Regions from separate parts of the Homo sapiens genome. Here regions 1, 3, 4 and 5 are each linked to region 2. The links are contacts of gene promoters, found by promoter capture Hi-C in blood cells and fetal thymus (Javierre and others, 2016). All regions are on one chromosome and are shown on one strand. Each heading gives the region's core, a stretch centred on a gene start or on the middle of the fragment in contact. The rest is flanking DNA. Distances are from core to core; before and after follow the strand shown. Region 1 overlaps GTF3A (general transcription factor IIIA). Region 2 holds the start of MTMR6 (myotubularin related protein 6). Region 3 has its middle 2.9 kb from the start of MTIF3. Region 4 overlaps LNX2 (ligand of numb-protein X 2). Region 5 holds the start of PAN3 (poly(A) specific ribonuclease subunit PAN3).

What was found. The method cuts DNA at HindIII sites, captures the fragments that hold promoters and counts their contacts. A CHiCAGO score of 5 or more calls a contact.
Region 1: a fragment that was not itself captured here is called in contact with the fragment with the promoter of MTMR6 in region 2 in 1 of 17 cell types (fetal thymus); the score reaches 5.3 in fetal thymus.
Region 3: a contact is called between a fragment that was not itself captured here and the fragment with the promoter of MTMR6 in region 2, in 1 of 17 cell types (fetal thymus). The highest score is 5.1, in fetal thymus.
Region 4: a fragment that was not itself captured here is called in contact with the fragment with the promoter of MTMR6 in region 2 in 1 of 17 cell types (non-activated CD4 T cells); the score reaches 5.2 in non-activated CD4 T cells.
Region 5: the fragment with the promoter of PAN3 here is called in contact with the fragment with the promoter of MTMR6 in region 2 in 2 of 17 cell types (fetal thymus and naive CD4 T cells); the score reaches 5.5 in fetal thymus.

What each region holds. Positions count from the first base shown.
Region 1 is chr13:27,424,714-27,428,045 of GRCh38, forward strand. GTF3A (general transcription factor IIIA) reads left to right here. Exons shown (of 9, transcript NM_002097.3): 1 at 1-225; 2 at 2,379-2,479. The coding sequence starts at 25. Among named protein-coding and RNA genes, the nearest start is that of GTF3A, 1.8 kb to the left of the region's middle. RefSeq lists silencers at 11-70, 171-250, 3,324-3,332 and enhancers at 341-410, 1,361-1,580. The HindIII fragment of the contact is 2,120 bases long and covers 191-2,310 here.
Region 2 is chr13:25,285,870-25,288,862 of GRCh38, forward strand. MTMR6 (myotubularin related protein 6) reads right to left here and starts at 1,619. Exons shown (of 14, transcript NM_004685.5): 1 at 1,355-1,619. The coding sequence starts at 1,378. RefSeq lists enhancers at 999-1,619, 1,323-1,662, 1,763-1,932. The HindIII fragment of the contact is 4,901 bases long and covers 958-2,993 here.
Region 3 is chr13:27,451,832-27,454,997 of GRCh38, forward strand. No RefSeq gene overlaps it. Among named protein-coding and RNA genes, the nearest start is that of MTIF3, 2.9 kb to the left of the region's middle. The HindIII fragment of the contact is 1,320 bases long and covers 845-2,164 here.
Region 4 is chr13:27,616,935-27,620,067 of GRCh38, forward strand. The region is part of intron 1 of LNX2 (ligand of numb-protein X 2); the gene reads right to left. Among named protein-coding and RNA genes, the nearest start is that of LNX2, 2.0 kb to the right of the region's middle. The HindIII fragment of the contact is 1,587 bases long and covers 737-2,323 here.
Region 5 is chr13:28,136,649-28,139,804 of GRCh38, forward strand. PAN3 (poly(A) specific ribonuclease subunit PAN3) reads left to right here and starts at 1,897. Exons shown (of 19, transcript NM_175854.8): 1 at 1,897-2,439. The coding sequence starts at 2,010. It overlaps PAN3-AS1 (PAN3 antisense RNA 1), which reads right to left and starts at 2,526. Exons shown (of 2, transcript NR_029383.1): 1 at 1,899-2,526; 2 at 195-1,757. RefSeq lists silencers at 1,742-1,851, 2,042-2,121, 2,162-2,561 and an enhancer at 2,644-2,938. The HindIII fragment of the contact is 2,991 bases long and covers 596-3,156 here.

The DNA.
Region 1 (3,332 bases), core at 1-2,500, 2.1 Mb after region 2:
CCTGGGCTTGGAGGCGCCGGCGCCCTGGATCCGCCGGCCGTGGTCGCCGAGTCGGTGTCGTCCTTGACCATCGCCGACGCGTTCATTGCAGCCGGCGAGAGCTCAGCTCCGACCCCGCCGCGCCCCGCGCTTCCCAGGAGGTTCATCTGCTCCTTCCCTGACTGCAGCGCCAATTACAGCAAAGCCTGGAAGCTTGACGCGCACCTGTGCAAGCACACGGGGGAGGTGAGGGGGGCGAGGCTGCCAACCCTGGGCCTAGGGATGGCGCGTGGCCCCGGGGTAGCCACTGCAGTCGTGGCCAGGGCCGCAGGCCCCGCTGTGCAGCGCGTTCAGCTTTGACATCCAGGACTTGGGGAAGGAGCTGAGGAAGTAGACAGGAAGTTGTAGGACCTTCGTTCTGCGACCTTGATATCCATGGCAGGGGCTCGGGATTTACTAAGCAGTCATTGATCGTGAGTCTCGGCCAGCCAAGTGCCTCCCGTAATCTGCAAATAAGTGTGAGGTTTGAGGGGGCCCACCGCTACTAGACACCTGCCAAACACTGGCCCCTGGAGCTGGTACAGAAGATGGGTTACATGTACCAGGGGTCGTGAAAGCAGCATGTGCTCATTTCTTCGTAACTCCACACTGGAGAGAGCAGTGAGCAAAACAGGCAAACCCAAGGTTTCTGCTGCCATGGACCTTTGTTCCTGGGTCGAGCCGACCACAGGATAGGTGGGAATGACATGCAGTGTTGTGGTCAGGAAAGGCCTCTCTGTGTGAGCCGTGTAAGAAGGAAGGATCTAGCCATGCAGACATTTGTGCTAGGTAGAGAGAACACAAAGGGAGCCTGTGACCCTTGGGGTGGGAGGCAGGTGGGTGTGTTTGGGTGCGGAGATCACCATATGAGGTCTGAGAAGTAGGCCCATTAGGAGTTTGGATTTTATTTTGAGGGCAGGAGAATGTCAGATACCATGATATGACGTGGCAGCCCATGTCACACACAAGTGAGGAAAACGAGGGTCATGGAGGTCAAGGAATCTGCCCAGCTTCCCAGTTTTTGGCAGAGCTAGGCTTCACACTGCCTCAGCTTAAAGCCCTTAATTTCTTAAACCACTGGGCTGCAGTCCATACCTTTGCCCCTTGCACCTCCTCTAATTTATGGGCCACCTTCTCCAGGTGTCCTCCGGGGCCTCATTCCTTAACCTCTCCAGCACTGGAAGGCCGACCGCTTCTTCCTTGAGACCTTCTCTGGTTCTTTTCCTCTTCCTCGTCTGCCCTTTTCGTTGGATCCTCTTCTGCCCTCTGCATGTTCCACCCCGCCCAGCTCCCTCTTGCGGTCTTACATAGCCACCGGCATGACTCATAACATCCTTTATGCTTTGCCCCTCTGCCCTTCCTCTTGCCCGTTCTAGCCTCTAAATTCTGGGCTCTGTATTACCAGTAGATCCACGTAAGAGCTTGCCTTTCCTTTTAGACCGGTGTGCTGTATTTTGGATACTGGCGCTACCAGTTTCCTTAATACAGGTTGAAAAACTTGGAGTCATCTTTGTTGTCCCAGATCTCTCATGCAGATTAATTTGACAAATGTTTATTGAGCCTACTCCACGCCTGCCGCTGTGCAAGGTTCTGTGGCTCCGCCCCTGGTGGTATGTAGCTCACTGTGTTCCTGTTTGCTTGTTTTGCTCCTAGTACTCTCATGGAGGCCTCGGTGCCTCCCTCCTGGACGCCTTGGTAGTATGCTTTTCATAGTTTGATGCACCAAACTGGTTATTTGGTTATTTGGGGTGTGTGTTTGGCTTTTACTATAGGTTCAAAATGAGTCACCCCCTCCCAACTCCTGGGTTACAAAAGGTGGTTGCATTTAGGGTGTTGAGCTGTTTTCTTTGCTTCGCCCTGGCACCTGTGAGCTTTTTCAGGTGTGACACACTTTCCTATAGCTGTGCTTGGCATTATCCTAGCACAGACCCTGGGCTTGTCTGGGATGAGACAGGCCTCCCTCGTTCCTCTGCCCTAGGCTTGCTTTTTTACATGTTAAATCATGCGGTGGTGGGGATCCATGCAGACAAGCCATGCTAACAGCCAGGGCGTCTTTAAGAGGGGGTTGCTGTGAAAGCCTGCTGCCGGGTTGGGAGCAGGTTAAAAATGCTATGCCTGCTTATTTTAAATGCTGTTCATGGAACAAAAATCTGTGTAGTGACTTTGTGAGAAGTTGTGATGTTTATGTTGTGTAACTTTGTGCAGGAACACTGCGTCTTGCAGTGGGTGCACAGCTCTGAGTAGAAACCACCTCTTCATAGGAAGCCTGTGGCCTTAACACTAGGCAGTTTAAGCTTTTAAATAATACCAGAGTTACTAACTAGTGCAGAAGTGACATGCTTTTTCTTTTTTCCTGCTAGAGACCATTTGTTTGTGACTATGAAGGGTGTGGCAAGGCCTTCATCAGGGACTACCATCTGAGCCGCCACATTCTGACTCACACAGGAGAAAAGCCGTTTGTGTAAGTAGAGACCTGTTTTTAGGCTTTTGAAGTGGGTTGTGTTGGGCATATAGACCCAGTAAGAAGATTGATGTTAACTCACGAGATCAGGAATGTGAAGCCTGGCAGGGCTCGGTGGCTCATGCCTGTAATCCCAGCACTTTGGGAGGCGGAGATGGGCAGATCACTTGAACCCAGGAGTTTGAGACAAACCTGGGCAACATGGTGAAACCCCGTATGTACAAAAATACAAAAATTAGTCAGGGATGGTGGTTTGTGCCTGTAATCCTAGCTACCCAGGAGGCTGAGCTAACATAAAATGCTCATGGGTGGGGACAAGCTAAAGTATATCAACACAATGGGATACCCTACAGCCAGGAAAATGAATGCAGATGCTCTCTGCAAAGCCATGAGAAAATCACCAGGGCACTTTAATTGAAAAACCAAGGTGCAGAAGAGTCCTCTTTAGGCTACTTTTATGTGTGTAAAAAAGCTAGGGGGTAGGGGGAGGGGTGAGTAGTGGGTGTTGGGTAGGCAGGAAGCAACTATATTTGTATTTGTTCCTATTTGTAAAGAAGTCTTAAAAGTTACATAACAAAACTAAAAATGTCATCTGTTTTGGGAGCAGTGGGGGATCCTGGCCAAGTAGGGGGTGGGGATGGTAGGAAATGCCATGCAACCAGGAACTACTGGACATGACTCTTCCAGCTCATGATCTAACCCAGACCCTGCCCCTCTTTAGCTGTAGTTCCCCGTTTCCCACTGCTCGCTGGACAGTGCTACTTGGCTATCTCTGTGTCTTCTTAAATTCCATGTGGTAGGCTGGGTGTGGTGGCTCATGCCTGTAATCCCAGCACTTTGAGAGGCTGAGGTG
Region 2 (2,993 bases), core at 369-2,868:
AAAGCATATGAAAAATAGAGGAGCTTCGAACTGATGCAGAAGGAAGTCACGTGCACTTAGCTACTACATAATACATATCTGGAACCAATACAAGAACCTGATCCAATGTCCACTCTAGTCCTCTTTTCCTCTGTGCACCTTCTACGAGTTTGGTTATAGACTTAAGCACCCTTCCATTTTCAAAATTTAAGTACCCACAACTTGAATTCTCAAGTTATTTTATCTTTCTTCTCTTAAAAAAAAATGTTAAGGGGTTAGTTTTCAGAATCTTCAATTTTACTAGATACGGTATGCACAATGTTAAAGACAAGCTCCAATAAAAATTTATGTATACCTTTAAAAGGTTTGTGAAACATTTAAAAAATTTTTAAAAACACAAATTCTTCTTGGAACAATGAAGATAACGAACATCTGTGGTTCCCTAAATGAGCCGTAATTTTAAGATGGGCAGCAACTAAAGGGCTTCAGCTTTGCCAAAACGTCAAGAGGCTGCCTTGCAGTGGGCTCGCAGTGATTTTAAAATGTTATTCTTCTCGTCTCGATTTATGTTTTTCTCCCTCTCAAAGTTAAACTTAAATGTCGTTGGAAACGTAATTTGGTAACATTCTGATGTCATTTCCTTCCGTTTTTAAATTTGTAACGAAATAAAAATATTTGTTCGTTCTCAAAATGAAGGTCTTCCACACACAAAAATTAAGCATGGAGTGCAATAAGGTCAATCGAATAAAGCTGCATCCGACCTTTTAAAATATGGAATAACATTTTTCCCTTCTCCAGAACTCTTGACTACTGACACAGGACAATGCCTGAAGTATGAAGCACAGACACGGAAACACCGGATGCGAAAGACTGGAGACCGAGACAGCAAAGGGAGGTGGAGCGGAGTGCTGATCTCGGTTCCTCCAAAACTCGTACTGTGAATCTGTGACACGGGACAATGAAATGTGAGCAAGGACAAGCTTACACAGCATCATAATGTTAATTTGAAGACGGTTTTCCGGTTGATGAGGCAACGAAAGGCTGAAAGACTCCAAAGTTAAAGGAGCCCCAATTTTGCCCGAGAAAACGTAGAGCTAGGAGGGCGGTGACCAGTTTTCCCAGACTTATCTCTACGCACTCCAAGATGCTGAAAGTGGGACCCCTGCTCCTGTAGGTACAGGAGGCCTCTGCACCCCGCTTGGCCCAAGCTAACCCTGCCCTCCCAGACCAGGCCTGGCCAGACCCTCCCGCCCCGGGCCGGGTCTCCGCCGGGCCGGCTCCCAGCCCCAGTCAGGCCAGCAGAGCCTTCGTCTCCTCCTGCCTCAGCCGGGTCAGAGCAGGGCCCCTGAAGACTGGCGATCCCGCGCCCGACTACCTTGGTCGTCCGGATATGCTCCATCGCAAGGAGACGTCAGCCGGCAGCCGGTCTCACAGGCGTACCATACGGCTACAGAAACAGGGCGGTGACAGCGACAGAGAGCAAGCGGGAACTCCCTCCACCAGCCAGCGCCGCGGGTCTGTCTGCCGGCCCCGGTGGCGTCAACGGCGCAGGTGCAGCCGGTGAGCGCCGTCTCCTAGAAACACTTCCCCAAACCCCGCGGCCTCCCGGGGGACTCGGGGCAGGCAGACAGAGCGTGTGTGGACCGAGAGCGGCTTGCTGGTTCGTCCCGGACAGCGGCGGATCCCACAGCGCCCCCTGCTGGAGGAGGCCGGTACTGCTCACCACCCCACCCGAGGCGGTCTTTGTCATCCCGCCGAGCGGACGCGCGGGGCGGTCGGGGAGGAAGACTGCGTGAGAATGGATCCCGAGTAAAGGGTTCTTGTGGGGTGAGGGCAAGAGTGGAGGATGTTCTGAAGTCCATCGCCATACCACTGGACAGCACCAAATTTAGTTTGAGCTGCAGTTCTACTCATAAGAATGTATTCTAAGGAAATAATCAGATTTGGAGTTATTATTCTAAGGAAATAACCAAATAAGGAAACCAGCCTTATTTGAAACAATCAACTCTCCAATCCTACGGATTCCTTATGTAAAGTATGATGATTAGCTAGTCCTCAATCTGGTCTGGTGTCAGAGTCCCGCCTCCTACCTCAATTTCATACGATGTTAGCACCAGCATCCATTAAAACTCATCCTGTAGAGGGATATCACATAACGAAAATGTTAATGCTGCATTACTGAGTGAAGAAAAAACTGACTATGGAACAATAAGTTCAATGTAGCCGTGCTCTGTAATTTTTATTTATGTAAACAAAAAGTTTACATTTCTAGGTGAGGGTTACAGGTAATTTTTGTTAGAACACGTCTAATGTGGTACTTCTCAGCCTGGAGTGAGTTTTCTCCCCGGGGGACATTTGGTAACATCTGGAGATATTTTTGGTTGTCTCAAATGGTGGTGGTGGGGGGGTGGCGGCGGGGGGCAACTGGTGGGTGGAGGCCAAGTCACAAGTCGGCTGCTGAACACCCTACTAGGCACCAGACCAACCCCCCAACTACAGGGAATTATCCGGCAGATGACAACAGTGCAGAGGTTGAGAAACCCTGCTCTATGCCAGGCGCGGTGGTTCACGCCTGTAATCCCAGAACTTTGGGAGGCTGAGGCGGGCGGATCACTTGAGGTCAGGAGTTAGAGTCCGAGAAACTCTGCTCTACGTTTTGTAAGTATTCTGTACTAAGCCGGTTAAGGTTTGTAATCTTCATCTTTCATACTGTGATTGGTGTTAGAAAAGCCTAACATCTAAATTTTCTTTTATAATTAAAAATTTTGTTTCACTTATTTGTTTCATTTTGTTCAAGTTGTCTTGGTTTGTTTTGTTTTGAGTGCCTACGATGTTTCAGACAGATTGCCAAAGCAATGGAGATGGTTATTAAACACAACAGCCTTTGCGGTGGAGTTGCTGACTCCTCTAAGCTAAATATGTAATAAGAGTTACATTAAACCACCTAGAAACCAACCTTAGTACAGTATCACATCCACCCCCTCCCCCCGAAAAAAAACCCCACAAATCCTGCT
Region 3 (3,166 bases), core at 255-2,754, 2.2 Mb after region 2:
TCGCACAACTAGTAGCAGAATCAAGAATAAAAAAGCCAAAAAACCCCAAACCCAGGCAAACTTTAAATGTTCCTTGCATTGCTAGACTGAAGTAGTGAGAGAAACAGTAAACAGTACGAGTCCATGAAAACATTAAAAGGATGTGAAGTATGTACAAGTAACTGAAACATTTAATGCCCAAACTAAAGACTTAAAATTTGCTAAGGTAATAGCACAGGTAGATTCACACCAAGTAATCACTGGTAACTGAAGCTACCGGCCAGCATCCATTTGCAGTCCGTCTTTGAAGGCAGCTGTGTCCAGAGCAGGTGGTTTAGGAAGCTTTCTAGACTTCCATTGTCAGATGTCTCCACGCCTAGAAGATGGTGCTTTAGTGTTCCTGGGAGGAGACATGCAGAGATGGGGTGGCAATTACAGACATGCCCACAGATGGAGAGAAGCCATTTTTTTCATCTTTTCCCTTGAACTCTTCTTTGACCTCCAGCCGAAATGGAGCTTGGCAGCTTTTGTGGGGTTTTTTGTTTTTTTGTTTTGTTTTGTTTTGTTTTGTTTTTGGAGATGGAGTCTCTCTGTGTCGCCCAGGCTGGAGTGCAGTGGCGCGATCTCGGCTCACTGCAACCTCCACCTCGCGGGTTCAAGCGATTCTCCTGCCTCAGCCTCCCGAGTAGCTGGGATTATAGGCGCGTGCCACTGGGTCGGGCTAATTTTTGTATTTTTAGTAGAGACGGGGTTTCACCATATTGGCCAGTCTGATCTCGAACTCCTGACCTCAGGTGATCCACCCCACTCGGCCTCCCAAAGTGGTAGGATTACGGGTGTGAGCCACCACGCCCGGCCACTTGGAAGCTTTTAAAGAGTCATTGAGAGCCTTGAGCTGTGCTTGGTGGGGGCAGACTTTGAAGATCCTTGAATAAAGATGAAGAGGTTTGGGGAAATGCTATTACTATGCCACAGATCTTTAATAAACTACTCCGTTATGTACATAGAAGAGGACTCTGAGACATGTGTAGAGCTTTCCCAATTGTTATCGTTTCTACATATAATTTAACCCCCTCAAAAAATGTAACTCAATAAGACTCAAATCATGGTGACTCTAAAAATGCCTATATTTTCTATTACATAGTAATTTCTACGTTAATTTCCATAGCATGCCCATGAACTTTCTCTTTCAATGAATATATTGGTGATTTGCTCTGATGAAGGAATAATGGAAATATCCCGTCCCTCTCTTTGCCTGTTAGCTTTCCAAGTCCTCCCACTTTTCCCCAACGCCGAGGGGACCTTCCAAAACAGGATTGTATGTGAGATTTACTTGCTTAGCCCAAGGTCATTGAGGTACAACATATCTGATCCACAAAAGAATCAGTCTGTGGGTGATTTCTTTAAAAAGTTATGAACACTGGGCTGCGTCTTTATAATGCCACAATGACTAACAATTCATTTAAAAATCTAATACTAATAAAAATCCTGGTGGTGGTTGTTTTTTTGTTTTGTTTGTTTGTTTTTTGAGACGGAGTCTCACTCTGCTGCCGAGGCTGGAGTGCAGTGGCACCGTGTCGGCTCTGCAACCTCCGCCTCCTGGATTCAAGCAGTTCTCCTGCCTCAGCCTCCCAAGTAGCTGGGATTATAGGCACCCACTACCACGCCTGGCTAGTTTTTATATTTTTAGTACAGACGGGATTTCACCATGTTGGCCAGGCTGGTCTCGAACTCCTGACCTCAGGTAATCCACCTGCCTCGGCCCCAAAAAGTGCTGGGATTACAGGCATGAGCCACCATGCCCAGTCAAAATCTTGGGTTTATTTTGAAGATACGAAGCATCTTCAAACTTTAAAGCCCATGTGGGTTCAGATATTCAGCATATTCTTTAACAAATAATTGTTCATAGATTAGATACTCCTCCCTCTCCAGATTATAAACTCTTACCTGGGCAGTTTTGCTAAAATTGGGGGAATTTAAGTCTATTATGTGTGAGATCCTATGTAGTGCCAACTAAATGTAGCTGAGAGCAGTTATCTTAAACAGCAGCAACTCTGTCATTACAAGGCCAGTTTAATAGCCAAAAGGGTCCATGCTCTCCTTAGTTGATGTTTACAGACTTGTCAAGAGTCATAGAAACAAGGCATGCAAGAGGCTTTGGCTGAGTGTTAGGTAACTCGTTCAAAGCTTCCTGAAGATACTGTCAGCCCAATATTGTGTGTCTATTATTGTCTGTTAGAAACTATTAAAGCCGAAAGCCTTCTTATGAAATCTCTACCATTTTCCTCAGGCAGGACTATAATTAATCCATTCCAAACATGTAAAACATCTCTATATTTAAAACAAGCCAAAACAAAACTCGAGGCCAGGAGATTTAGCTTCTCATTTCAATGTTTTATAAGACGGGAGTCTTTTCCTTTACATAACCTAAATCCATCATGTTGCTACTTAGTCTGGTTCTGCAGTAGAGCTGGAGAACATCTGGTGACCACATCTGTGTTATAACCCTTTGTGTGCTCTCAAACTATTTGCTAGATTCAAAATAAATTTCCTTACCATGAGTGAGATTTCCCATAACATTAGACTCCAGATTAATCATTTCTCTTGTCAGAATATGATGGCCTCAGTTATTAAAACGTGGTGGTTGTGAATCAGCAAAATGTCTAAAATGAATGACATATTGTAATAAAGTTTTAAAAACTTTCATATCTGCCAAATAAAAATATTTGTATATGGAAGATCCACTTCTGTGAAAAGTCTCTTGTGCAACTGCAGAAGCAGAAAATAGGTTCAGAAGTTTCATTTGGAACACAACAGAGACATGTCTTTCCATTTCAGAGGTGTTGAGTTTTGAGGTGATTCAGTTAACTTTGATCGTTTTGAAACAATGAAAATAATTTCTATTACCATCATAGGACATCATGCAGAACAACAAAGAGCTAGTACAAAGTGTACCATGCTGACTGTTGTGTAGATAAAGCAAAACAGTACCAAATGATTAGTTAGCATTTTACATTTAGAATGCAACCCAGCCGGGCACAGTGTCTCATGCCTGTAACCCCAGGACTTTGGGAGACCGAGGCAAGCAGATCATGAGGTCAGGAGTTCAAGACCAGCGTGGCCAACATGACGAAACCCCATCTCTACTAAAAATACAAAAAAAAAAAAAAAAAAGAAAAAAGATTAG
Region 4 (3,133 bases), core at 280-2,779, 2.3 Mb after region 2:
GAGACAGGGTTTCACTGTGTTGGCCAGGCTGGTCTTGAACTCCTGACCTCGTGATCGCCCGCCTCAGCCTCCCAAAGTGCTAGAATTATAAGCGTGAGTCACTGCACCTGGCCAAAAAATTCCTCTTAATAACTTCTTAGAAGGCTAATACACAAAATAGCCACCTTTTCTGAATCCAACCAAACAAAATAACTTATTAACCACAGATTTTCCTACTGCTTTGTATTTTCTGAGGAAAAGAAACAGGTGCCAGGAAAGCTAAAAGGGATGTCTTTTGTAAGACTCTCAGGCCCTCCTACAGGGTCAATTTAGGTAGGCCTGCCCCAGTCTTCTAATTCTACATGCAAGATACATATGTATTACTTTTTCAAACAACACTGCTTCCTAAATAGAGGAGAACCTATGAAATGAGACCTGTGATTCTTTTTTAAAAACCTAGATGCATTTGGATAGAGGAAGGTGGGCCTGTGAACTCTAGCCCTGTAAGCAGGAAGGAAAGTTAAATAGTTCCTCATAATACAATTTAAAGATATCGGGTGGCAATTGTAAAGGAAAGAAAGAAGAGGGGAAGAAGGCCAAAGAGCCAACCAGATTACAAGAGCCTGGAGTCCTCCTTTCTTTGATGGTGGCCAAAATATATTTTAAGGATAGAAATGCCTAATATTCAATGTCAACACTTCTGATATCGCTCCACTGTGAACCCCTTCACCCTCCCCTTCCTCTAAATCTCTCATAAAGCTTACCATACTCATAAAGCCTTTCTGTGAACTCTTTTTCTTTTCTATTCTTTCCTAGCTCCTGTGAGACACAACTATCCAACAACTGCATCATGGATCTCTCAACCATCCATTTAGCACCTCCTTAGATTAGTCCAAAACTGAACTTATCTTCCCTTCTACACCTCTACCATCAATTGTTTTTAACTGCTCCTTCTCATATCCTCCAACATTCCACTAGCTCATTAATGTCATCATCTAAAGGAACAACTAATATTTACTGAGCACTTGGAATGTGCTAGGTACCCTGCCAAAGGCATTACATGCATAATTCCTCAAACCCTACTCAACAGGTACGACAATCATTTCCCAAATGTTAGGAAATCAAAGTTCTGTCAGGATAGTTATTCTAAGGGTAAGTAATAGAATTAGAATTTGACCCGTTTTAATTTCACAGCCAGCTTACCCAGTACATGTCAATCAATGCCTGAAGTCAAACAACCCAGGATTCATCCTTCCCTCCTTAAGCCTACCCAGTCACTTACCTAGTCCAGCCTCCTAGTCATACCTCTTAAACACCACGTCATTTCTCCTTCCACTGCCAGCACACTAGCATTTACTAAGTCCTTACTATCTGGCAATCACTATTCTAAGTAATAGACATGTTTTTTCAAGTTCTATCCCCCAAACTCTGAGATGACAAACCTAAGGAACAAAGAGGTTTCAGTGTATGACAGAGCCTGATTCCACCCCAGGTAATCTGAATAGAGAATCCCTGAGCACTTAACCCCTCCATTAGAACAGCCTCCAACTTAGTCTCCATATCGCCCATCTGGAAGCCCACCATCCTCCAGACGCTGCAGATATCTTTCTGGAATGCTTACCCGTTATCATGACATTCTCCTGCTTAAAATTAGCAGCTCAGTATCACTGACTGGATAAAGTCCAAATTTCTTAATCTGGTATAAAAAATCCTTCATTTTTCTGTTCAAGTCAATTCAGTAAATATTTTAGTGCCCAATGTAAGCAAGAAAAGGTGCCAAGTGTTCTGAAATGAATAATACATGTCCCTGACTACTACCTCCACCTCGGACACTGGGTCCTTCGGCCAGACAAGCCCATATGCAAAGCTCGTAATACAACAGCCCAAAGACACATACATTTATTTTTAAGTGGCCTGCGTGCTACGTGCCTACAATGTACGAAATCCCAAACCAATCTGAAGACTAAGTGCCTACGTAACACCTATTCTTACAGGTCTCCAGGCAGAAATGCTCCCTAAGTTCAAATTACTTCAGGGTAACTAGTGGGATAAAGGCATGGATCAGTTTCCAAATGAGAAAACTGGGCAAGAAGCAACCCCCGCCATCAATGGCTGGCATGCAGTAGGTACTTTATCAGTGGCTAAATGAATAAATAATGAAAAAATTTCAAAGTTGATGAGAGAAACAAGATATATGGAGAATGTAACACACAAGTGGGCCGAATTAAAAGTGATGTTATTCTACTTTGGTTCTCATTTGGCCTACTTTTACCCCATGGGAAAACTCACATGTGGGACTCGGACAAGCTAAAAAGCCAAAACTTTGTTATTCATGGCTCAACAAAGCTTTGACAAGCCAAAAAGGATACCAGATTCCCGCTTCCTTCTTTACCTGCCAAAGTCCATTTTCTAAAGAGGTGTGGGGGTGGGAATCAAATCTAGCAAAGTAAATAAAATTGATCTACTGAGATCCAACTTCATTAGTGCTGCATCGAAGTACATGCAAAAGAAATATCAAAACCTGTCCTGGGAAGAAGGCCAATTTACAAGTAAGTACTATTGCCGCAAGAATGTGAAATTCTTAAAGGCAGTTCCAATAAGCTGGAGCTCACAAGTGTTCCTCCTCCTGCACCGCCACCGCTTTTCACTCAACTTTGTTTCTGATTTCTGTGATTTTAAAAAGCATAATATACACAGCAAAGCCCATGCATAAGTGTACTTTAGCTCCTGGTACAAACGAACGTCTGGATTCATAAACTTAACGTAAACTGAAATACTAAAAGAAACACTACATGAGTCAAAAGTCCTTGTTTAAAACGTGGCATACAGCTTTGAAAAGCGAGTGATGTATTTCCTGAATGATGCTTTGTGTGCAACTGCTTCCAAATCAAGATTCATATTTTTAAATTACCCCCTGGAAGATGTCAAATCTCTCTCCCACCCTCTCCAGCCTAAAGAGAAAGGTGAGAATTCACAGGCAACAGGCTGGGGCGGAGGGAATGATCTCTCCCCATCCCTTTCCAGAGAACAAAACCCGATAAAGGCAGCTAGTGCCACTCTCATTGCCGACACCACACACACACAGAGGAAATTTAAACACTCACCCCACCTCTCCCTTCCCTTAAGAAGCAAACGACGCCAAGCTCTGCACCAC
Region 5 (3,156 bases), core at 647-3,146, 2.9 Mb after region 2:
TGCTGGGATTACAGGCGTGAGCCACTGCGCCTGGCCAATACTATTAATAATAGTTACAACCTACCGAATTCTTATTAGGCATGGGACAGTTTATATACATTATTAGTTATACTTTATGAAGTAGGTACTATTCTTAATCCAGGTGTACAGACAAGGCACAGAGAAATGAAGCAATTAACTGAGAGGAACACAGCTATTAAAGTGTAGGCACTTTAATCTGTTTCAATCCAGATCTGTCTGAATTCAATGATGTTCCCAAACTTGGAACATGAAAATATCAACTTTCTCCAAGAAGTCTGACATGTTTAATATCCTCTAATAGCAAATGTGATAAGGTTAGCACTTAAGACACTGGTTTACAACGGACCTGTGTACTTGATGCCTCCCCAACCGGAAGATAAGCCATCTGAACTCACTTAAGGCGGCATGTTCACTTTTGCTTCCCCAGCTCCACAGTTAAGTGTACCACAGTTTCTGGTACACGTAATGCGTGTTAATAAAGATTTGTTGAATAATCAAATAAGCGAAACTGCTTTTAAACAGAAAGCCATAATACAATGTTATTACCTTCGAATTTGGCTAGAGAACATCACCAAGCTTACCAGTTTGTGATCTAGACTCCACTTTTCCCCATTTTTTTCAGTGTGCTACTTTTGCTTATATCCATTCTTCTGTGACTTTGTTTGCCACAATTCCTTAAATACTTCCACCCCTCCTTTTCATAACAGCGATCTGCCGTTTGTGAACCTCTTTTACAGAGAAAAACTAGAATGTTACTTTTCCTTTCATAGCAATTCTTTAAAATTTCTGAAAGCCTTTAAAAGGGTATTAGCGCAAACATCAGAGATCGCTGAGGTTAAAACTATCTTTTAAAAATGAATTTCACCGTCTCAAAAAAAATAAAAATGAATTTCAAATCAAGGCTAGGCTGATTGGAGAAAAGCAACCTAGTATATTTATAAAGGTCTTCCAGTGCTGTCTAAGCAGTGTTGTCCCAGGTGGCATCCTATTTTTCATAATTTACCGAAGGCCCTTGGTAATATAAATACAGAGAATAACAGGTGCTGCACTGAGCAGGGGGTCTGTCTAAATCAACCTTTTTGGCTCCATTTTTTGACAAAGGGCCAAGAGGTTAGCGTAATCGGTCCAGTAGTTCTCATTACCTTCGAGGGGAAGGGGAAAGAGGAGAGGGGCGAAGAAAGGAAACGGGGAGAGGAAGTGTGGCAAATAGAAGATATTCTTCAGGTAGAGCCAGGGCTCGGGCCGCGTCCCCAGGTGGCCCCTCCAAACGACCGTTTACCTTGTCAATTTTCTCTTTTCAATGAAAAAAAAAAAAAAGACATCTGGCTTTTTAAGTAAGAGAATATACAAATAAGGAAGGTATCAGGTCTCGTGAGAATTCGGCGCCAGATCCGCGTCCGGAACCCCACCGAGAGCCGCCGGTCCAACCGCCGATAGCTCGCGGATGCCCCCGGGGGCCCGACGCCGGCCAGGCTTCCCCTAGCGCTCCCGCTACCCATAAGCCCTCGCGTCTCAGCGCGCACGCGCAGCGGCGACGGCCGTCTCAGGAAGAGGAAAATGGAATAAACAACTCGGAGGAACCAGAGCGCGAGAGAGCGAGTGGAGGCAGAATTTAAAAATAAACCGGCCCCTCCGCCTTCCCCACCCGCTTGCCGCTGCCGCTCCCTCTTCCCCTGCCCGCGCCCTCGAAGTCCCCGTCTGGGCCCGCGCGCTCACCCCGTCGTCCCGCGCGGCCCCTTTAAGAAAAGAGAACGAGAGAGTGAGTGAGAGAATCCCAACTCTCCCCCTACCCTCCCTCCTTCTACCCCCTCCTCCCTCCCCTCTCCCCTCCCCCTTCTCCCCGGGCGGCTCCGGCTCCCGCAGCGGGACAGACCCACCCGCCCAGGCTTTTATCCGGCACCGGCAGCGTCTTCCTTTCCTCCCCCGTCTATGGTGGTGGCGGCGGCGGCTCCTCGGGCGGCGGCGGAAGACGAGGCTGCGGCGTTGCCATGAACAGTGGCGGCGGCCTCCCGCCCCCCTCGGCCGCCGCCTCCCCTTCCTCCTCCTCGCTGGCGGCGGCGGTGGCGGTGGTGGCCCCGCCGGGGGTCGGGGGTGTCCCCGGCGGGGCGGCGGTAGGAGTGAAGCTGAAGTACTGCCGCTACTACGCTAAGGATAAGACTTGCTTCTACGGGGAGGAGTGTCAGTTCCTGCATGAGGACCCTGCCGCCGGGGCTGCCCCGGGCCTCGGCCTCCATAGCAACAGCGTCCCCCTGGCTCTGGCTGGTGCACCCGTGGCCGGCTTTCCGCCGGGAGCCGTCGCGGGCGGGGGAGCTGGGCCGCCCCCCGGGCCCAAGAAGCCGGACCTGGGGGACCCGGGGACCGGAGCCGCAGCCGGCGGAGGAGGCAGTAGCGGGGGACTCGATGGACCGCGGCTGGCAAGTGAGTGTTTTTCGGGCGGGGCGGGCCGCGGCGGCGGAGGGCAGGCCTGGGCCGGATGAGGCCCTGCTGCCGACGGGAGCTGAGCACGGCCCGCGGGCTCCCCCCCTCACCTCCCAAGGCGGTCTGAGAGGCCTAGGCCGGGCCTGAGCCCTCCTTCCTTCTTCCTGCTTCCCCTCCCCACTGCCTTCGGCAAGTCGGAGAGCGCGGGGAGGTTGGGTTCCCGGGAACGTGGGTGGGAGGACTGGGGTGATGTGAAGGGGGGGCGGGGAGGAAGGGGGATGGGCTGTGGCGTGCGGAGTGTGAGAAAGGGGGTGTCGTTTCCGGGGGGTGTGGAAAGGGGCTGGGTTTGCAGGCACATGTGTTTTGCGTGTCCTTGTGGAGTGGCGTCTGCAGAGTGTTGAGGTTCCCTAGTGGGGAGGGGTGTGTTTGTGTGTGTGTGTGTGTGTGTGTGTGTGTGTGTGTGTAGGGGGCGGGAGGTGAGGGGCGGGCTTAAGGCTTCGTGGAGTAGGTTGAAAGAACGGAAAAAGTTTGTAGAAGGCTTGCGGGAGAAAGGTTTTGCAGGCAGGAAATGCTTTCTAAGGATTAGGAGGGAGCGGACTGTCGCGTTCAAAGTGTGCTCAGGTTTAATCGAGAGTTTAGAGTAGGGATTTCACAAAGACGCATTTCATCTGAGTTTCCCTGAAAGCTAGAATAAGTTTGCTGGTGTCAGCTGGGATC